6 separate regions of the Homo sapiens genome follow, and all the other regions are linked to region 4. Evidence: promoter capture Hi-C in 16 types of primary human blood cells and fetal thymus (Javierre and others, 2016). All regions are on one chromosome and are shown on one strand. The core of a region is centred on a gene start or on the middle of the fragment in contact, and the rest is flanking DNA. Distances in the headings are between cores, read along the strand shown.

Evidence for each region. The method cuts DNA at HindIII sites, captures the fragments that hold promoters and counts their contacts. A CHiCAGO score of 5 or more calls a contact.
Region 1: a contact is called between a fragment that was not itself captured here and the fragment with the promoter of UPRT in region 4, in 4 of 17 cell types (non-activated CD4 T cells, activated CD4 T cells, total CD4 T cells and 1 more). The highest score is 6.9, in non-activated CD4 T cells.
Region 2: a contact is called between a fragment that was not itself captured here and the fragment with the promoter of UPRT in region 4, in 8 of 17 cell types (fetal thymus, total B cells, activated CD4 T cells and 5 more). The highest score is 12.1, in fetal thymus.
Region 3: a fragment that was not itself captured here is called in contact with the fragment with the promoter of UPRT in region 4 in 1 of 17 cell types (total B cells); the score reaches 5.5 in total B cells.
Region 5: a contact is called between a fragment that was not itself captured here and the fragment with the promoter of UPRT in region 4, in 3 of 17 cell types (naive CD8 T cells, total B cells and monocytes). The highest score is 8.1, in naive CD8 T cells.
Region 6: a contact is called between a fragment that was not itself captured here and the fragment with the promoter of UPRT in region 4, in 2 of 17 cell types (total B cells and M0 macrophages). The highest score is 7.1, in total B cells.

What each region holds. Positions count from the first base shown.
Region 1 is chrX:74,576,304-74,579,746 of GRCh38, reverse strand. No RefSeq gene overlaps it. Among named protein-coding and RNA genes, the nearest start is that of RLIM, 37 kb to the left of the region's middle. The HindIII fragment of the contact is 2,448 bases long and covers 747-3,194 here.
Region 2 is chrX:76,135,482-76,138,744 of GRCh38, reverse strand. No RefSeq gene overlaps it. Among named protein-coding and RNA genes, the nearest start is that of PBDC1, 36 kb to the left of the region's middle. The HindIII fragment of the contact is 808 bases long and covers 1,186-1,993 here.
Region 3 is chrX:74,529,600-74,532,868 of GRCh38, reverse strand. SLC16A2 (solute carrier family 16 member 2) reads right to left here. Exons shown (of 6, transcript NM_006517.5): 6 at 1-1,536. The coding sequence ends at 1,316. Among named protein-coding and RNA genes, the nearest start is that of RLIM, 83 kb to the left of the region's middle. The HindIII fragment of the contact is 655 bases long and covers 1,084-1,738 here.
Region 4 is chrX:75,271,709-75,275,362 of GRCh38, reverse strand. It overlaps UPRT (uracil phosphoribosyltransferase homolog), which reads right to left and starts at 1,278. Exons shown (of 7, transcript NM_145052.4): 1 at 723-1,278. The coding sequence starts at 1,108. LOC124905200 (a long non-coding RNA gene) reads left to right here and starts at 1,327. Exons shown (of 4, transcript XR_007068269.1): 1 at 1,327-1,885. RefSeq lists enhancers at 898-1,107, 1,268-1,317, 1,338-1,387. The HindIII fragment of the contact is 1,552 bases long and covers 187-1,738 here.
Region 5 is chrX:76,156,255-76,159,788 of GRCh38, reverse strand. No RefSeq gene overlaps it. Among named protein-coding and RNA genes, the nearest start is that of PBDC1, 15 kb to the left of the region's middle. The HindIII fragment of the contact is 4,234 bases long and covers 1-3,534 here.
Region 6 is chrX:76,251,885-76,255,324 of GRCh38, reverse strand. No RefSeq gene overlaps it. Among named protein-coding and RNA genes, the nearest start is that of PBDC1, 81 kb to the right of the region's middle. The HindIII fragment of the contact is 2,096 bases long and covers 956-3,051 here.

The DNA of each region.
Region 1 (3,443 bases), core at 721-3,220, 700 kb after region 4:
GACTTGGTTTGTACTTTCTGTGTGAGTGTAACATAACACTTTCTGTGGCCTTTTTAAGAATCTGAAAACCAGCTGGGCATGGTGGCTCATACCTATAATCCCAGCAATTTGGGAGGTCGAAGCAGGAGGGTCACTTGAGGCCAGGAGTTTGAGACCATCCTGGACAACATAGTGAGACCCTATCTCTATGTCAAACAAACAAAATAATCTGAAAACCTACTTGGTAGTAGAGGACAGATGTTGGTTTCTAGCGTGGGTGACTCCAACCTATCTGTAGTACATGAATCCAGCTGCTAACTTGGAAGATGCCAGAGAAGCACATCACTCAGCCTTTCTTTTTTCTTTTTATTTCTTTTTTTAATAATCTTGGGTGTAACCCCATCTAGATTGAAGGCAAGAATTCAGGAAAATTCATTCATTGTTTTGCCTTGGCCCTCCCCTTTCCTGGAAGAAAGAAAATAATGGAACAGTGTCTGTTGGCACGAAGGTACAAGATTGTTCCTAAAACAAGAGACCAACTCAGCAAGCAACTAAGCCCAAATTCTGCCCAATCGCTCTGATGGAAAAGAAACCTTCCCCTAATAATGAAGCTATCTTTTTTTTGCCTTGCTGCAGTAGGCACTGAGAAGTTATCTTCTTCAGCATCTGAATTAATCCCCTTTCCCCACTTTTGGGGACCAGAAGCATCTATATATTTAAACAGGAAAATCAGTCTAATCTGCTAAATAGAAATTACATTCCAAGCTTCATTTTAGTATAAGTGCTGTTTAATAGCCCTTGTATAGACATGGGCCCTGACTGAACCCTTTCTCTGTCTTTTAAAGACAGGTCAAAACCACCTGCAGAGAAAAAAAAGCTGGAGAGGACATTTTGTTCTTTGCTTCTATCCCACCCCAAGGTGTTCCCTTCAGTATTGTTATTGGTATGTTTGATTTTGTTTTGTTTTTTTTTTTTTTTTTTTGAGAGAGTCTCACTCTGTTGCCCAGGCTGGAGTGCAGTTTTGCGATCTTGGCTCACTGCAACCTCCACCTCTTGGGTTCAAGCGATTCTCATGCCTCAGCCTCCCAAATCACTGGGATTACAGGCCCACACCACCACATCAGGGTAATTTTTGTATTTTTAGTAGAGACGGGGTTTTGTCATGTTGGCCAGGCTGGTCTCGAACTCCTGACATCAGGTGATCCACCGGCCTCAGCCTCCCAAAGTGCTGGGATTACAGGCATGAGCCACCGCACCTTGCCGGTATGTTTGATTTTGAATACCTTATAGGTTAACTGCCCAGCATATATAAACTAGACCTGGCTTAGGCCTTATTTCCTGTTCAAAAATACCAGCTTATAAACCAAAGCCTAGAAATGAGTGGGCTAGGTTCCTGACTCTGACGTCTTTGTGGATGACTCAAATATCTACCTATAAGTGTTCCAAAGAGGTACCATGAGACTCACAAGAAAGTATACTGCAATTTATACCACCCACCCTCTCCAGTCACCACCACTCTACTACACACTCTTTGCTCCCACTGAAAGGTTAACATGAACTGCCAGTGTGGCCTTGAAAGGGAGGGGGAGATAGAGAGATGGTTACAGATTGATGAGTAGGTCATATACCAAAATATGTTGAATACTTACTAGCTGCCTGGCCTTTTTACATTTGTCCTCTTAATATGTTATTCATAACAATTTGGGGGCAATTGGATATTTGCATTTTATAACAGAATCAGAGGTTAAGTGACATGCTCCGGGTCCCACTGCCAGTATTGATCATTCAAGAAAATATTTTAGCTGGGCACAGTGGCTCATGCCTGTAATGGCAACACTTTGGGGGGCGAAAGTGGGAAAATTGCTTGACGCCAGGAGTTCAAGACCATCCTATGCCACATAGTGAGAGCCTGTCTTTACAAAAAAAAATACTAGGAATCTATGTCTCAAGCACTGTTCCAAGTACAAGGGGTACTGTGGTCAACAAGACCAAGACCCCTGCCATCATGGAGGTTACATTCTTTCTTTGTTTTTGTTTGTTTGTTTGTTTGTTTGTTTTTTGAGGCGGAGTCTCGCTCTGTCGCCCAGGCTGGAGTGCAATGGCGCTATCTCGGCTCACTGCAAGCTCCGCCTCCTGGGTTCACGCCATTCTCCTGCCTCAGCCTCCCGAGTAGCTGGGACTACAGGTGCCCGCCACCACACCTGGCTAATTTTTTGTATTTTTAGTAGAGACGGGGTTTCACTGTGTTAGCCAGGATGGTCTCGATCTCCTGACCTTGTGATCTGCCCACCTGAGCCTCCCAAAGCACTGGGATTACAGGCGTGAGCCATCACGCCCGGCAGAAGGTTACGTTCTAATAGGGATAGGCAGATAATATTTTTGTAAATACAAATTCAGATACTGCTTTAATGCTGGGAAGCAAAGTAGATGGGGTGATGTGATTGTGACTGAGATGTGATAGGGTGGTTGGAGAAGACCTGAGGAGGTGATCACAAGCTGAGACCTGAATGAATAGATGGAGGCAGAACCTTCCAACTCCAGGGAATGGACTCAGCTCATTATCTGGAAGGAGGAAAAGGGGCAGTGTTGAACTGGGGAAGCAGTACAAGTTAAGGCAGGGCCAGTTCATAAGGGTTGTATAGTCCAAGGAAGGGAGATAGAATTTCATTCTGAGATGAGAAGCTGTTGGAGAGTCTTAATGGTAGGAGTGAAGTGCTCTTACTTAAATACTACTAAGTGGCAAAATCAGGGCTAGAAGACAGATCTGACTAGGGCCACTGCATGACACCACAGCAGAAGACTTTCCCATACCTATCCTTTCCTTCCCCAGGTGGAAGTGCAGGGAAGCTGAGTACCCAGTACCCTGGAGACAGCTCTGCCTTGCTGTAGGCTTTTGACTTCTCTTTCCAGGTTTCCTTCCTTTCCTAAGAAACTCAGCTTGTGAGATTCATATAAACAGTGATGTGGCTCTTTGTGTTATTTTAGTCTAATCTGGTTTGAATGACCTTTTTTAAAAAAAAAATTAAGACAGGGTCTTGCCCTTTTGCCCAGGCTGCTCTCAAACTCCTGAGCTCAAGCAATCCTTCCACCTTGGCATCCCAAAGTGCTAGGATTACAGGCGTGAGCCACCACAGCCGACCTGAATTACCTTTTTCTGCCATCGCTGAGAAAATTAGCAGCTAGGACCCAATATCACAAATGAGACAAAACAAGCTTCTCCCTGATAACTGGGCCAGCATTGTTGTTTTGTTTCGCTAATAACTGTAGGGATAAGGGTTGCCCAGATAATGAAGAAAAGGGACAGCTGAGTTCTTAATTTTTTAAAGAGCTGATTACACAGATCCTTTTCATTAGATGCCACTTGGTGATTTCTTTACTTGTTAGTGATTTTACTGATGGGTAACCTAAATTCAACAAGTAAATTTAACATATATTTTGGAACAGCTAATATGCCCAGTCACCCA
Region 2 (3,263 bases), core at 340-2,839, 860 kb before region 4:
CATTTTATGTACCCTGGGAAGGTCACACTTTACCCAGCCTGTTCATTTCTCTGCTCAAATCATTATCATACTGAGCAGAAGAATTTCCAGTACTATTCAGCTTTCATGAATTATAGAATGTTTGAGATGGAAGATGTTTGAGGAAACAGAGATTCAGGGAAATGAATTTGTCTGCCTAAGGTCACCCAGGGAGTTCGTGGCTGAGCATACCCTAGGACTCAGATTCCTTGAAGCCCAGGCCAGACTCTTTGGGGCCTCAAAGAAGTCAGCCCCAGATGACTCTTCTACAGCTCTTATTCAGGGCACACCTTAAGAGTGGAAACAGAAAATCCCTAAAGCTGCCAAATATTTCTGTCTTGACCTGATACCTTCCCCATACCTTGAACGCTACTGCCTGACTTCTTGAGGAGCCAAACCATGAGAGAAACTCAGAGTGCATTAATAAAGGGCTTAAGTAACCATAGGAAAACATAAGCCTGTGCCAGAAATGCTGCCACCAGGAAATTTAAATCTCTGCAGGACTTATGGTACTTGATTGGCTCCATGCTCTGTGGGCTGATGCCAAGCCCAAGAACCAAGGTAACTAATTCTTAGGGAAGTCCAAGTAGACACCAGAAGAGGAAACCAAACCCTCATGGTAAATAAAAATCATTACCAGAATATTGTTTCCTTGACACAGCCTCTGACAGCCATGAGTGGCTCTCCACATCTCTTAAACTGTGACAGGTGGCAGTAACCCAAAAAAGCTCAGACAATGGTCCCAAAAGTAGCATCCCCTTGGGTTTTCATCCATTTTCTGAGTGTGTCAAGTTCCTACTGGACTTAACTTAAATCTACAACTAGGGAAGAGAATGAGTGCCATGAGCAAGAGAACAAGTAGGAAGGGGTAAAGCAGGGAAAAGACATATGGAGGTACAGCTGAGACTAATGTCTTGAGCAAAAAATATTTGTGTTCCCTTCTAGTCCTATTCATGCTTGACCACCCTTCCAAATTCCACCCCAATGAACTTAGAGTCTCAAAAACCGCATAAAAAATTCCAGGTTCAGACACTGAAGCAAGGAAAGGGACAGCCACTTATACAAAATTATAAAGTAAACTAGCAGCAGTATCACAGAAGCCTCCTGACTTCCAGAGCAAAGATCTTTTTACAAACATCCCAGCAAGTAATTTCACTTATTCAAGCTTCCATTTCCTCATCTAGAATGAGGGAATAATAATATTACCTACCCCAAGAATCTGCTGTAATAAACTAATGCCTGGAAAACACTTAGCGAAGTCCCTGACCACTGTAAAAGCTCAATCTATATTAACCATTATTATTATATTGGGTTATCTTCTCCACTTGCCAGAATGCAATGGGCTGCCAGCTGCAACCCTATTGTCACTTCTACATCTAGCCTCCTATCTTGCACATACACTTTGAGTTTCCAACTTCTAGTTTCTTTATTGACATAGAAAGGAAGATACTATCTGTGGGAAGGAATAGAAAAAGGAAAGGTGTTTTGAACTACCTCAGATATCAGTGCTAATAAAGTTTTGAGGGAGATGGCAAATTTTCTGACTGGTATAACTTTTCTGTTGCTGAGCCAGGAATCAAAGTGTGAGAGGGATAAAGCATGTGAAATACTGAAAAGAGTTCTATTATAGTTTGGAGTCTGGCATGCCTGTGTTTGAACCTCAGATGTGCCTCTTATTACATGGCCTTAGGCAAGTCAGTCACTTCAGTTTTCCAAGACAAAGTTTCTTCACTTGTCAAATATGGCTCATAATTTCACATCCTCACAGGATCATTATGAAGAGTTCCAAGGGAGAAATGATGAAGTGTGTGTGTGTGTGTGTGTGTGTGTACACAGACAGATATACGTTCCTCCACATATAGTGAGTATTCAATAATTGGGTACTACATCACTCAATTTAGAATTTATGGGAATGTTTCATATATTCTGGCAATGGGTTCATTCTCAGTCTTACTTTTCAGAGTTACTGCAAGCTTTCCTCCTCTTCTGGATCTTCTTTTGTATATTAGTCAGAAGCCAAGAAAGGCAACATCAAGTACTGCTTATTAAAGACCATTTTAAGCTGGAAACCCATTACTAAAAATCAAAGATATGTGACTATTTTTTCACCAATTGTAATTACAAAAAAATTCACCCAAAAAATTGATAAAATACTGTTAGCAAGGCTATGGGAAATTTTGACACATTGTTGGTGACAGTATAATTTGGCACACATGTTGAAGGCAATTTAGGGCGTCTATCAACTTATGAATGCATAAGGCTCTAACAAAACAAATTAACCTCTGGAAATTTATCCCACAGACATGCCGGTATTTGTATATATTTTAAAAAAATATGTGCCAGGTTGTTTACTGAAGCATTGTTTGTAAGAGCAAAACCTTAATGTCTATCATCAGAGCAACACATTAAATAAATTATGGTACAACCATACAATGAAGCTACAAAAAATAACAAGGAAGTGTTCAATGTACTGACATGGAAAGACCAGTGAGATATATTTTAAGTGACTTAAAAAGTGTATATTGTGCCTAGTGCTGTGGCTCACTCCTGTAATCCCAGTATTTTGGGAGGCCGAGGCGGGTGGATCACCTGAGGTCGGGAGTTCAAGACCAGCCTAACCAACATGGTGAAACCCCGTCTCTACTAAAAAAAGAAATACAAAATTAGCCAGGCATAGTGGCGCATGCCTGTAATCCCAGCTAATCGGGAGGCTGAGGGAGGCGAATCACTTGAACCCGGGAGGCAGAGATTGCGGTGAGCCGAGATCGCTCCGCTGCACTGCAGCCTGGGCAACAAGAGGGAAACTCCATCTTAAAAAAAAAAAAAAAAAAAAGAAAGAAAGAAAAGAAAAGAAACAAAAAGTGTATATTGTATGCTACAAATTATATGAAAAAGTGGGTGGGGGCTATCTCCTTATGTAAACACACACAAAGTTTACAGAAGAAATGAATAAAAATAGTTAACTGTGTGGGTGGAGAAGGTGGGAACTGGGGAGATGGGAGATTAAGCTGGAATAGATACTTTATGCTTCTTCTATTTGGTTTTTGATACATGAAATATATTACCTTTTCGGTAAGTTTTATTTTAAAAAGACAATCAGCCCGGGGCGGTGGCTCACGCCTGTAATCCCAGCACTTTGGGAGGCCGAGGCGAGCGGATCATGAGGTCAGGAGAACGAGACCATCCTGGCTAACACGGTGAAACCCCGTCTCTACTAAAAATACAAAAAAAATAGCCGGGCTTGA
Region 3 (3,269 bases), core at 162-2,661, 740 kb after region 4:
AGGGATCAAAGTGGTTCAGAGTCTACCTTTCATGGCACCTTTAATGCCCTCTAAGCAAAGTGGCCTAGGATGCCCAGCATGGGAGACACATTGGGTGGTAAAGGCTGGGATGGCTTCCCCTTCCCAAAAGAAATTTTCCAACCCTATGTGCAACTGCTGCCTGTACCTTTTTGGGATCCAGGCTAGGAATTGATTTTTTTTTTCTTAAATAGTCTCTTTCCTGGCCTGGCCCAGGTAGAAATATAGACCTGTCATGAAAACTGAGAGATGGGGCTCACCATATCAATAACTACTGCCCCTCCTCCCGCCATGGCAGCTCGTGTCATCAGTCCTCCTCTACCTGCTGAGATGAAAGGAGTTTCTTCACATTTTGCCATGTGTATACAAGAATGGGGTGCTGGGAGGGCCTTGAGGTTAATGCCTTGGACTGTAAGATTTGTAAAAATCAGTGACTGGAACATGGAACACTGTGGTGTTTAAGGTTTCTTCCCTATATGATATTCTACTCTTCCAGTCTAGGATTATATAGCTTGAGCGAAAAAGTGAGATGTGGCTCAGCCTGAGATGAGTGGGACTGATGCTAGTGTTAGGAGTGGACTGGGACAAGGTGAGGCTGATTGGCCCAAGTTCCGGGTCCCTCCTTTCTTCAAGCACCCATGTGTCTATGACAGTCATACAAAGAAATAGAGGGGAAAGAGTATGGAGAGAAGTCAGTAGAGGAAAAAAAGAAGGAAGGGAAGAGGGGAGCAGACTGTTAACCAACCATACAATAAGGGCACTGCTTGTACCCAGTTCTTGGGAAGCCACAGTCATCAGCAACTCTAAGACTAACCAAGGCTACTTGTCTCATTTTGCCTCCCTGCCCCTCCACCCAGTGGCTCCCAAATATGGATGGCAATGACCTCCTCAGCAAACAGAGATTTGGGCCTACCCTATTAGGCTCCTGGGGACACAGTAGCACCTTTGGCAGTTGATTATAGTGGGTGACTAACAAGCTGGGTCCAGGAGGTCCCATCCTCCTCCTCCCCCAGAGCTTAGAAAGTATATGGAGAGGTTCCAAAGGCCAGGGGTGGTTCCCAAGCTTTCCCAGATCCTGGGAGGAGAAAGGCCCTGGAAAATTTAAAAGCATTCTGGGGAGAATTTAGTTAATGAGTTTGGAACACCTGGAGCTTTGACTCCAAGGAGATTGTCAGGTGGCTGAAATGCTGTGTGCGCAGGTCTGGGAACAAGTGTGCTGGTGGCAAAAATGTAAATGCTGAGCAGGGTGGGATGAAGGGGAAGAGCTGGGAAAGGGCACACAATGGCAAGAAAGGCATTAGATTGGTTCCTCAGGGTTGGGGGAGCCCGGCAGTAGCTCCCCATTGGGGTCTGGGTCAGGGGCCAACATCTTATCCTTGCTGGAATCTCTCTGCTCTTTCTTGAACATCCTTTGATGCATCAGAGGGACGAAGAAGAGGATTACAGCCCCGATGATGGGGGGCACACCGGCAAAGTAGAAGGCCACATGGTAGTCCCCAAAACAGTTGCGGAGTAGGCCTGAAACAGTCAAGAGAGACAAGTCAAGCTCAGCTTTGCCCTACTGTCCAAAGGTACTCTCAGCCCGTTCTAGGGGCCATCACAGTGCCTATCCAGATAATCTTGGCGTGTATTGCCTTAACTCAGGAGCTCCCTCAACTTCAAGGCATTGGGGCTGCAGGCCCTTGAGCGAATGCTCATTATGAAAGAAGCTAATGAAGCTTCTCTTAAAGTTTCTCCATTTATGACTTTCATCAATCTAAGATCTAGTCACACCTAGTTACGGAGTTAGGAGGAAACCTAGTTTAAAAGAAATCCACAGAAGATGGCCAAGTGTTGTCTTGGTCCACAGTGATATTTCCCAGCCTCCTACCCCCGCCCCCTGCCCCCACAAATGGTTCCTGTGGTACATTTCAGATGAGTTTTTATTTTCCTTTTCTCTGAAGTGACCCTTCTCTGAAGTTCCATTTGTCCTAGCAAGAGGCTATACGTGTTCCTTTCAGTTACATATATGGTTGTCCCCTCTGGGTTTCTCCAAGCTGCCAAACCAAGGATATGTTTGACATGGGATGCAAGGCCTTCCCTACTCACTTCCAGAAGCTAATATGTGGTACCTCGTAGTACCTCAGAGCCCAGAAACAGTATTCAGAAAAGGCAAAAAGGCCCTTGGCCTTTTGCTTACTCAGGAGTTAAGCAAATTGGAAAGAAATGTGGATTCTGGGGCACTGTTTGGATCAGGGGGTGAGTAGAGGCCCCCTTCCCCCAATGGGTAGTGTGGCTGTTGCCCAGAAGCCTGAGTGAAAGCTTTTGCCACTGTCACACAGTGCCCTCATATCACCTTGCACATAATTTGTGTTCGAAGAATATTTGTTGAATTAACTCATTTGACCAGCCTAGGAGAAGCTAATGCGTGAATCAATGTTTACAATAAATCCTACAGAAAAGAAATGGAGTTGCCGGGTGTGGTGGCTCACGCCTGTAATCCCAGCACTTTGGGAGGCTGAGGCAGGTGGATCACGAAGTCAGGAGATCGAGACCATCCTGACTAACACAGTGAAACCCCGTCTCTACTAAAAATACAAAAAATTAGCTGGGTGTGGTGGCACGCACCTGTACTCCCAGCTACTCGGGAGACTGAGGCAGGAGAATCGTTTGAACCCAGCAGGCAGAGGTTGCAATGAGCTGAGATAGCCAAGATTGCACCACTGCACTCCAGCCTGGTGACAGAGCAAGACTCTGTCTCAAAAAAAAAAAAAAAAAAAAGAGAAAAGAAAAGAAATTGGAGTTCTCTTGTCATTGGTTTTCTGTTCCTCGTTCCCTGGGATACCAACAGTGCCCTTCTGGGAAAATGGAGGGAGAAAACCAGGAGTGCTGAAAGATGGCAAGTCAACACTTTTCCTGCTGAAGGTGAGCCTCACTGGCTTAATTCTGGGGTATTACTTTAATCAAATATCTTCTACAGGCTCAGTTCAGAAGCCAGCAGAGGAGGAGGAGGATGTCCCTAGGTTTTAATAAAACCAGAGCCTGCTTTCTCTTCTCTTCCTACCCAACTACCTTGCAAATAATCACTTGCCTGTGGAGAGAGTGAGAGGATACTAGATCAGTGGAACTGTCAGAAAGCCAAACTCATTTTTCTCTCCACCCCGCTGGAAGGATCCCTGCTGTCTGAAATAAAATCCTATTGAAACAGATATACCACCATGGAAAATCCATCCCGCAGAATGGATCCATGCGTGTGTACTGTGTTTAATCTC
Region 4 (3,654 bases), core at 29-2,528:
TTTCCCTGGAGAAAACCCATTTACAACGTAGGTTTAGAAATTTCAAAATTACATTTTAACATGAAGTTCTGGCTACATTGGTTTGTGGGATTAGGAAGGGCCAAAGGCTCCTTTAGGCTCCCTTTGATCCATTAACTATGTTCTGTGAGTTTACAGTGAAAAATGATAAGAGTTGGACGATAAGCTTTCATGTGATCAAGTAAACCTGAACTCCAAGACTAAAAGACCTTGTTTGCAGTAGCAAATACTAAAGGGTCAGGGCCTGAATAGAATTTCCTTGAAATTGCTTTATTTCTATTTATGAACCTGAGGTGATTGGTGGTAGTGCATAACCTTGGATAGTAACCATTTCTGGGTTATAGGTTTACCATGTGGACAAGCACTGCCCACATAGTATAGGGGAGTTTACCTGCCTGGAATGGCCAAGGAGTTGTCTTTCCTGGGAGAGACAAAGAGCCCAGAGGCTACCTAAAGTCTTCCTCCCCACCCAAAGTGATGTTAGACACCGGAACTTGGAAAGAGAAGGTTGGCGTTCGAGTTACACGACACACACACACACACACACACACACACACACACACACACACCAAATAAAAGGTCTTACCCCAATCTCCAAAGTTTGCCAAGGCCAAGAACACTGTCTCTTAGCCCTTTTACTTCCAATCCCCGCCCACAGCCTGCAAGACCCTCCACTTCCCTTTCCCCTTCCGCTCTTGGCTTACTTGTCACGGATGATGGTCTGTAGCTCCCGTATCTGATCATTCATAGGCAGCAGCTTAAGCTGCGCCCCGATCTGCCGGGAGAGTTCGCAGTCCTCTAGGAAGGAGTTGCCAGCTGGTGCGTCATAGCTGCTACTGTCACCACTACCACTGTTGCCCTCTGAGTTGAGGCTGGAGCCGCCGCAGGCCCCAGAGTCCAGCTCGGCCGGCAGGCTAGAATGGGCGTACCCCGTGAGGAGAATCACCTTGGCCCTGGAGGCTCTGTTTCCCCCTGCGTGGTCCAGGATCAGATCGCCAGGTCGCAGCTGCTCGGGACTTGGGGTTGAGGCAGAGTTTACTTGCTGGTTGTGACAGGGCATGGAGTCCGGACACTGTAACTCCGTGGCCATACACCGGGCCCCGGGCTATCCCCGCTGCTACTGAACACTAAAGATAAAGAGGAACGGGTAGAAAGGACAGATGCTCACGTGCTCTCTCGGTTGCTCCCGCCTCCTCAGAACATCTAACCCTGGCTGTCCTTTCACCCCTAGGCCGCTGTTGGTTTCCTTTAGCACACTTTGGCTCACTCCCGCCCACACCAGACGTACTGCCTGCCTAGACACCCTATTGGCTGCACTCCCCGCCACTCTGCGGCGCCACTGCTTGTTAACCCTTTGAGTCACCCTTGCTACGTGGGTTCCCACAGGTAGCTAAGCCCCCGCAGCGAGGCCAAGGATGCCAGCTTGAAGGATCTTCCGGGGGCCCCTGGGGCTTCTGCATTCAGAACTTTGGGTGATTAGTAGAGCCAGGAAAAACTGGGGGTGGCAGGTGATGATACACAGTTACACACGTAAGGCCCATGTTTTCAGACTTTGTGACCTAGCAGAGAAATTATATCTCAGTAACCGCATCTTCAGTTAGCTTGTCTGCATAACAGAAGGAAGAAGTAAAAAAATGCCTAGCAGGCTGCTGAAGAGGCTGTCCTCTACTAGACTGTTCTAGAAACTGCAGCTTCCCAAGTATGCTTGACCGCCAAAGCTTTTCTTATCTTTATTGGTTGGGCCCCACAGTGTACACGTTGTCATGGGGACTCAGGCGGCATTTCAGATCCACTATCATTTTGAATCTTTAAAGTACTTGGAAAGACGCTTATTTTTAAGTGTATGGACTCACTATAACGGCCTGAGGTAAGAGTGTCTAGGGCAGTACTTTTCAAACATCAGTATGTACCACAATAATTGTAGAGCTTGTTAAAATGCAGGTTCTTACGGCTCATTTTTGAGATTGTGATTCTGTAGATCCGAGATGGGATACAAGAATCTTTTTTTTTTTTTAACTTTTAAGTTCAGGGATATATGTGCAGGTTTGTTACATAGGTTAACTTCTGTCATGGGGGCTTGTTGTAAAGATTATTTCATCGCCCAGGTATTAAGCCTAGTACCCACTAGTTGTCTTTCCTGATCCTCTCCCTTCTCACACCATGCACTCTGCAGTAGGCTCCAGTGTGTGTTGTTCCCCACTATGTGTCCATGTGTTCTCATCATTTAGCTCCCACTTATAAGTGAGAACATGCAGCATTTGGTTTTCTGTTCTTGTGTTAGTTTGCTAAGGATAATAGGCTCCAGCTCCATCCATGTCCCTGCAAAGGACATGATCTCATTATTTTTTATGGTTGCATAGTATTCCATGGTGTATATGTACCACATTTTCTTTATCCATTCTATCATTAATGGGTAGTTAGGTTGATTCCATGTCTTTGTTATTGTAAATAGTGCTGGAGTTAACATATGTGTGCATGTGTCTTTAATAAAACAATAATTTATGTTCCTTTGGGTATATACCCAGTAATGGGATTGCTGAGTTGAATGGTATTTCTGTCCTTCCTTTTTTTAACATGCCTATACAGATTTTTTTATAATTTTTTTTTTATTTCCATAGGTTATTGGGGAACAGGTGCTGTTTGGTTAGATGAGTAAGTTCTTTAGTGGTGATTTGAGAGATTTTGGTGCATCCATCACTCGAGCAGTATACACTGTACCCTATTTGTAGTCTTTTATCTCTCAAGCCCTTCCCACCCTTTTCCTCCAAGACCCCAAAGTTCATTGTATCATTCATATGCCTTTGTATCCATCATAGCTAAGCTCCCACTTATGAGTGAGAACATACAATGTTTGGTTTTCCATTCCTGAGTTACTTCACTTAGAATATTAGTCTCCAATCTCATCCAGGTCGCTGCAAAAGCCATTAATTCATTCCTTTTTATGGCTGAGTAGTATTCCATATATATATACATATATATATATACACATATATATATGTGTATATATATATATACATATATATGTATATATACACATATATATACACATATATATGTGTATATATATATATATCTCACAGCTTCTTTATCCACTCATTGATTGATGGACATTTGGGTTGGTTCCACGTTTTTGCAATTGCGAATTATGCTGCTATAAACATGCGTGTGCAACTATCTTTTCTGTATAATGACTTCTTTTCCTCTGGGTAGATACCCAGTAATGGGATTGCTGGATGAAATGGTAGTTCTACTTTTAGTTCTTTAAGGAATCTCCACACTGTTTCCATTAGTTGACATTCCTACCAGCAGTGTAGCAGTGTTCCCTGTTTGCCACATCCATGCCAACATCTACTATTTTTTAATTTCTTTGATTATGGCCATTCTTGCAAGAGTAAGGTGGTATTAAATTGTGGTTTTAATTTGCATCTCTCTGATAATTAGTGATGTTGAGCATTTTTTAATACATTTCTTGGCCATTTGTATATCTTCTTTTGAGAATTGTCTATTCATGTCCTTAGCCCACTTTTTGATGGGATTGTTTGTTTTTGTCTTTCTGATTTGAGTTCCTCGTACATCCTGGATATTAGTCCTTTGTCAGATGTATAGATTGTGAAGATTTTCTCCCACTGTATGGGT
Region 5 (3,534 bases), core at 557-3,056, 880 kb before region 4:
GCCCTGCCCAGAGAGGAGGGAATCTGGAGAGGCAGTCTGGCTGCAGTGGCCTTGCTGAGTGAGGTGTGGTGGGCTCTGCCCAGATGGAATTTCTAGGCGGCTTTGTTTACACTGTGAGGGTGAAACCATCTACTCAGGCGTCAGCAATGGCAGACGCCCTTCCCCCCACCAAGCTGGAGCATCCCAGGTCGAGCTCAGACTGCTGTGGTAGCAGCGAGAATTTCAAGCCAGTGGATCTTAGCTTGCTGGGTTCCGTGGGGGTAGGACCCACCGAGCCAGACCACTTGGATCCCTGGCTTCAGCCCCCTTTCCAGGGGAGTGAACGGTTCTGTCTTGCTGGCGTTCCAGGTGCCACTGGGGTATGAAAAACTTCTGCGGCTAGCTCAGTGTCTGCCCAAATGGCCGCCCAGTTTTGTGCTGGAAACCCAGGGCCTTGGTGGTGTGGGCACCAGAGTGAATCTCCTGGTCTGTGGGTTGCCAAGACTGTGGGAAAAGCACAGTATCTGGGCCTAAGTGCAAAGTACAGTCCCTAATGACTTCCCTTGGCTAGGAGAGGGAGCTCCCGGACCCCTTGCGCTTCCCTGGTGAGGCAACACCCCACTCTGCTTTGGCTCACCCTCCTTGGGCTGCACCCACTGTTCAACCAGTCCCAGTGAGATGAACTGGGTACCTTAGTGGGAAATGTAAAAATCACCCACCTTCTGCATTGATCTCGCTGGGAGCTGCAGACTGGAGGTGTTCTTATTTGGCCATCTTGCCAGCCAGGGCTCCAGTGTTCCTTATTTCTTACATACGCTATATACCCCATGAAATTTGTCATTTAATCCCCCATATTTGTTGATCGCCTACTCAGAGCTATGTCCATATGTGTCTAAGACCTAGACATGTAGTGATGAAAAATGCACAGTACCCTCTTATAATGCACTCATCCTAGTGAGATATATTGTTATACTAAAACTGACCATTACCAAAAAAAAAAAAAAGACAGTAGTAATTATAATGATAGTGATTCCAAGGAATAGCACAGTGGCTGACACATATTAGAGGAGTGCCATGACTTTTTGTTGCATGAATGGATTAATGACAATACATTCAAAGCATTACTGGAAGACAAAGACATGAAAACTATCCTGTGACCATGCTGGAAGGCGCTTGACTCCTGAAGTGAATACATCTTAAGGTTAAGGTTAAAATCTCCTGACACATTAAGTTCCCATGAAAACCTTAGCAATTGCCACTTTTGATTGAATGTCTTCCATAGGTAAGGGTACAGAAATAATTATTGTTAACTGCTGAGTATGGATCACATAAGACTCAGACTGTCCCATACCAGTCTGTGTTAGTATATGAGTATGTGTGTGCACATATGTACATATGCATGTGCATGAATGCATTTAAGAAAAAGAGTGGGTCGGGTGTGGTGGTTCATGCCTGTAATCCCAGCAGTTTGGGAGGCCAGGATGGGTGGATCGCTTGAGCTCAGGAGTTCGAGACCAGCCTGGGCAACAGGGCAAAACTCCGTCTCTACTAACAATACAAAAAATTAGCTGGGCGTGGTGGTTCCAGCTACGTGGGAGGCTGAGGCGGGAGGATCACCTGAGCCTGGGAGGTGGAGGTTGCAGTGAACCAAGATCATGCCACTGCACTTCAGCCTGGGTGACAGAGTGAGACCCAATCTCAAAAAAAAAAAAAAAAAAAAAAAGAGAGAGAGAGAGAGAAAAGAAAAAGAAAAAGAGTGACACCTCTCCAACTATACCAGGGGCAGTACAAATGATCTGGAATCAGGATAGATTTAAATTCACCTCCTCCTTGGAAGTTACCAACCTTACTCTCATAGTTTCAGGGCCATGATGGTTTGTGGTTAAAGTTATGTCATCTTTTATTTCGGAGGTAACTGAGTTTTATTATCTATGTGAACTTAGGCAAGTCTCTTAAATGCAGAGTCTTGGCTTCTTCACTTTGAAAGTGAAGATTACAGACACATTTGACTTATGTGCTTATTTCAATGATGGAATTATATAAGACATGAATGTATGAGCTCTTAGCACAGGGACTAGAATACAGCAAATGCTCAGTAAATTATAGATTATTCAGAATGCCATGGACTTTCCAGACATAGCTCAGGTTTAAGCTCTAAGATTATTTTCTGCAAAGGTTATTTTGCTCCACATCTGCTAAGGGAGATACCTAGGTTGAGCATGGGGGAGAAATAGGCATATGTTAGCCCTAGTACTTGTGGGTCCAGCTGCAACTCCTTGATACTGTGGTGAGTTGGGGCTATCACACTGGATGTGCACTGACCTCAGACATGCCCATCTCTTTGCAGTGCATCATAGGCTTTCCCCAAGGGAAGTTCTGAAAGCCCCACTCAGAAAGCACAACACCAGGATGTTATAGACAAGACTTTGAACTTTAGAGGCAGGTAGCTCTGGATTTTAAAGAGGAAAATGAACTGAGCCCATGCTTTTTCTCTATATATCGTCCCTGTTTTCTCCTTCCCTTCATTGGCTTTGTTTACTCTGTCTCAATGCTTCCTTTCTTCCTTCTTTCTTGTTTTACTTTCTTATAGTCACAGAGCAATTTTTCATAGAAACATAAAACATTTTTAAATACTATTAACACTTGGTAATTCAAGCCCCATCTTTAAATTTTCTCAGCTAGAAATGTAGAAAAGTTTCTGCCTCCGTTGTGCTTTTTTTCTAACTAATCAGAACAATTTGGTCATTTAGGAATTGGACTAATTTTTCACTCAGAATTGTCTGAAACTTTTCTCACACCCATAATTCAGATCTCCTTTGTCATTCCATTCCATTCTCAGGTAAGGATATGGCACTGTATGTCAGAATATAACATCAAGCCTTCCTCTGTCTAAGCCTGGTGATAACATTGGTGGCCATCACACCCTGGCTGGGGCTACTAAGCATATTGCTGCAGAGCTCACTAGGTGAGCAGCCAGAGGAGAGATAGGAATGAGAGTAGTGATGAGCTTTTCCTGCTAACTTGGTATTTACTCTGTTCTGATTCAGACACATCTACAGGATAATTCAGGGCTCTGGACCAAGGAATAACCAGACATCTCTAAGAATGGCTCCTTGGTGCTGGTGGCACAAGAGTAACCTTTGTTTTGACCACCGGCCCACCAGTTGCACTGACCAACTGCTTTCAGATGGAGTTATTTAGGCTGTGCCAAGTGACTTGCACTGTTTCTGAACTCATAAATATAACTTGCAGCCCTCACTGGATTCATATTTGATCCCATGGGAGCTGGGCAAAGGAGACACACCTGAGAAGGCAATGTAGTCCTCTCTTCAAAATCACCACTTTCCTCAAATAGCCACAGTGTTACGTAGTTGGCCAAGCTGAGCTTCCCGGATATTACTTCCTAAGGATGTCATTTTCTAGTACCCTTTTTAGTCCCCAAATCAAAGAGTTATCTGATAGAAAAGAAATAGTATCTCACCATGATTAAAATTTTTATTACCTGATTAACTTTGATATTAAGTATCTTTTTCTGTGAAAGATGGGTGGGCGAAA
Region 6 (3,440 bases), core at 754-3,253, 980 kb before region 4:
TTCAATTTAATCATTATCAAAATACCAATTACATTTTTCACAAATTTAGAAAAAGTAATTCTAAAATTCTTACAGTATCACAAAAGATGTCAAATCGCTATAGCAATCTTGAGCATAAAGTACGAAGTTGGCTCGGGCATGTCTAAAATGTCATCTGGAAGCTAGGGCCTGGAACAGTGCCCCACAACTCTGAGAAGTGCCCTATGCTGCTTTGGCTTAGCTGGCATTTAAGATGCAAGACAAACTTCTCACCACTCTTTTCTCTCCTCCCTACAACTGGAAGAATGGGGTCTCTTTTGGACCCATGCTTTGCAGCCTAGTTTCAGGGGATGGGTGATGCCAGCACTCTGTTAGTTGCCCCAGCTGGTGTCTCAGTAGGTTGCATGCCCCACTAGTCTACTCTCTCTGGGCCTAGTCCAGTACTAGTACTCATCTAAGAGTTGCAGGCCTTGTGGCCTAGACTGCCTTTCTCCTATGTTACATAAATAACCTGTTAATCTGCATAATAGATTATGTAAATAGCCTATTAACCTATTAATCTATGAATGAGCTGGGAATCCAGCATCTAGTTCAAACACTAAATTTCCTTGCAGGCAGAGGGTATGAAGTGTCCAAGTGTCCAAGTGTCCAAGTCACAACTACTAAGACAAGAGGTTAAATACCCAGAGGGTATGAAGTGTCCAACTATCCAAGTCACAACTACTAAGACAAGAGGTCCAATGCCTGGGGATAATCCTGACCTGTGGAGATCCTAAATTCTCCCCAGAATGAATATAGGTCATCCTTAAAATACCTACCCCAACCACCCAAAAGCTACTTCAGGCCTTTCTGGGAATCACAGGATATTGCAGACTTTGGATACCGGGGTATGATAGAATTGTTAAGTCCTTAATCAGACTTAAAAAAAATGACTAATAGAAACTCGCTTTTCTGGGGAAAATATCAGGAGCAAGCTTTTAGGCAGCTAAAAACTGCCCTCTCACAAGTTCTAGCCCTTGGACCACCCATACTAACCAAACCATTTCAGCTTTTTGTTACTGAAAGACAAGTTGTAGCCTTAGGAGTCCTAATTCAAACCATAGGGCTAATCAAATCTCCAGTAGGTACCTTTTCAACGAACCTAGACCCAGTTGCATGAGGGTGACCACACTGCCTCAAGATAGTGAGTGCAGCAGGGCTCCTATACTAGGAGGCCCTCAAAATCACCATGGGACAGTTAATCCAGATCCTGCCATCACACCATACAGGCCCCTTATTGAACATAAAAGGGCCACAATGGTTCACTGACAACAAACTGTTGAAGTACCAGGGCCTGTTACTAGAAAACCCACAGGTAACAGTTTAGCGGTACTCCATCCTCAACTCAGCCAACCTTACTTCCACTACCAGGAAACAATAACCTGGCACATTTATGCTGTGAAATACTTAACCAAATTTATGCCAGCTTGGAGGACTTAGAGGATCAGCTTCTGGACAATCCAAACAAAATATGATTTTCAGATGGGAGTAGTTTTATCTGGAATAGAGCTAGACATGCAGGGTACTTTATAGTGTCCCTTTCCCAAGTCATAGAGATAAAAGCTCTGTCCCGTGGGGACCTCAGCACAACTAGTGGAACTCATCACGTTGACAAGGGCAGTACAGATCCCAAATCTTAGATCTACTAGATGCTGTTCACTTGACCCAGGAGGTGGCAGTAGTACCCTGTGAGAGACACCAGAGGGGCTCCAATGAAACTGCACAAGAAAATAGGATGACCAACCCCAAACTAAAGAGGCAGCTGTCTCAAAGGATACTTACCTGGGGCCTTACTCCCATTGCTCCCCACTGAATTATCCCCTCTCCAATACACTCAGGAAGAAATAAATTGAACCACCCAACGTAGGTATCAAAAAGAAACCAATAAATGGTACAAACTTGGGGAACTTCTCCATCTACCAAGGGCCTCCCAAGGGTAGAAGGTCATCACGAGTTCACACAACTCCTGCCACGTTGAAAAGGACAATCTACGGCAAATATGTAAATTAATGTTTAGTAGTGTATTATTCCATTCTTGCATTGCTGTGAAGAAATGCCTGAGACTGGGTAATTTATAAAGAAAAGAGGTTTAATTGTCTCATACTTCTACAGGCTGTACAAAAAGGCTAGCTACCTTTCACAAGAACACCACCAAGAGGATGATGCTAAACAATTCATGAAGGATCCACCCCCATAATTCAACAACCTCCCACCAGGCCTCATCTGCAACAATTTGACATGATATTTGGTTAAGACACAGATCCAAACTATATCAAGTAGATAGGAAGAGAATAAACAAAACTATTCAACATGTTTGTCAACCTTTCAACTTGTGCATCATAAGTAATCCCCAAAGAGGGAAGCCCCCAAGTCCAACCCAAAGGACAGGTACATACCCTGGGGAGGACTGGCAGTTGCACTATACTCAGCTCACCACATGCTGCGGGCATAAGTACTTCTTGGTCTGTGTAGACACCTTCACAGGATGGGTACAGGCCTATCCCACAAGGACTGAAAAGACACAAGAGGCAGCTAATTCCTCCTAAGGGAACTCATTCCCCAATTCAGGCTTCCTAGGTCACCGCAAATAGACGATGGTCCATCCTTAATTTCCCAAACGAATCAGCAGGTCAGTTCTGCCTAGGCATAAAAGGGTACCTTCACTTTGCCTGGAGACCACCATCTTCAGGGAACCTGAAAAGAACTAGCTAAACCCTCAAACACATCCTCAATAAACTCTGTCAGGAAACAGTACAGACATGGGTGGACCTCTTACCTTTAGTTCTCCTTCAGATTTGTGTTGCCTCTCAGACCCCTTTGCAATTAAGCCCCTTCAAGGCCTTATATGTTAGGCCATTCCTGTATTCTGACTTACTGCTAGATGAAGAAACTGCTAAAATCAACCAGTATGTCTCTTTTCTAGCAGACCTCCATCAAGCCCTCCAGGAATATGGGTTAAAAACAAACACAAAATTAGAAGAGAAAAAATCTCCACCTCTATATCCTCCAAACTCACTGGTTCTCCTCAAAGCTTGGAAGAATAGAACCCCAAATTCCCAACTAACTCCAGTCAAAGAGAGACCCTTTACTGTTGCATTTTCTATTTCTACCCTCACGGCCATTAAAGTAACAGAGATTAGCAGCTGGATACACTACACCTGAGTGAAGTATTGGAAAGGCCCTTAAACACTGGAACTGAATCCAACGACTTCAACTCCAGAATACATTGTGAACAATTGAAGGATCTGAAATTCCTCTTTAGATGGAAAGATAACCAATGCCTCCGCAGATCCTTTCACCTCAAAGTAATATAATTCCAATATTAGGAATACTGTTTGCAATAGCATCACTTATTCACCTTATTTTAACCCTAACCTGTATGCCCCCCCAAAGTCCCAAGAGAAACTACTTTGTTGCTAATT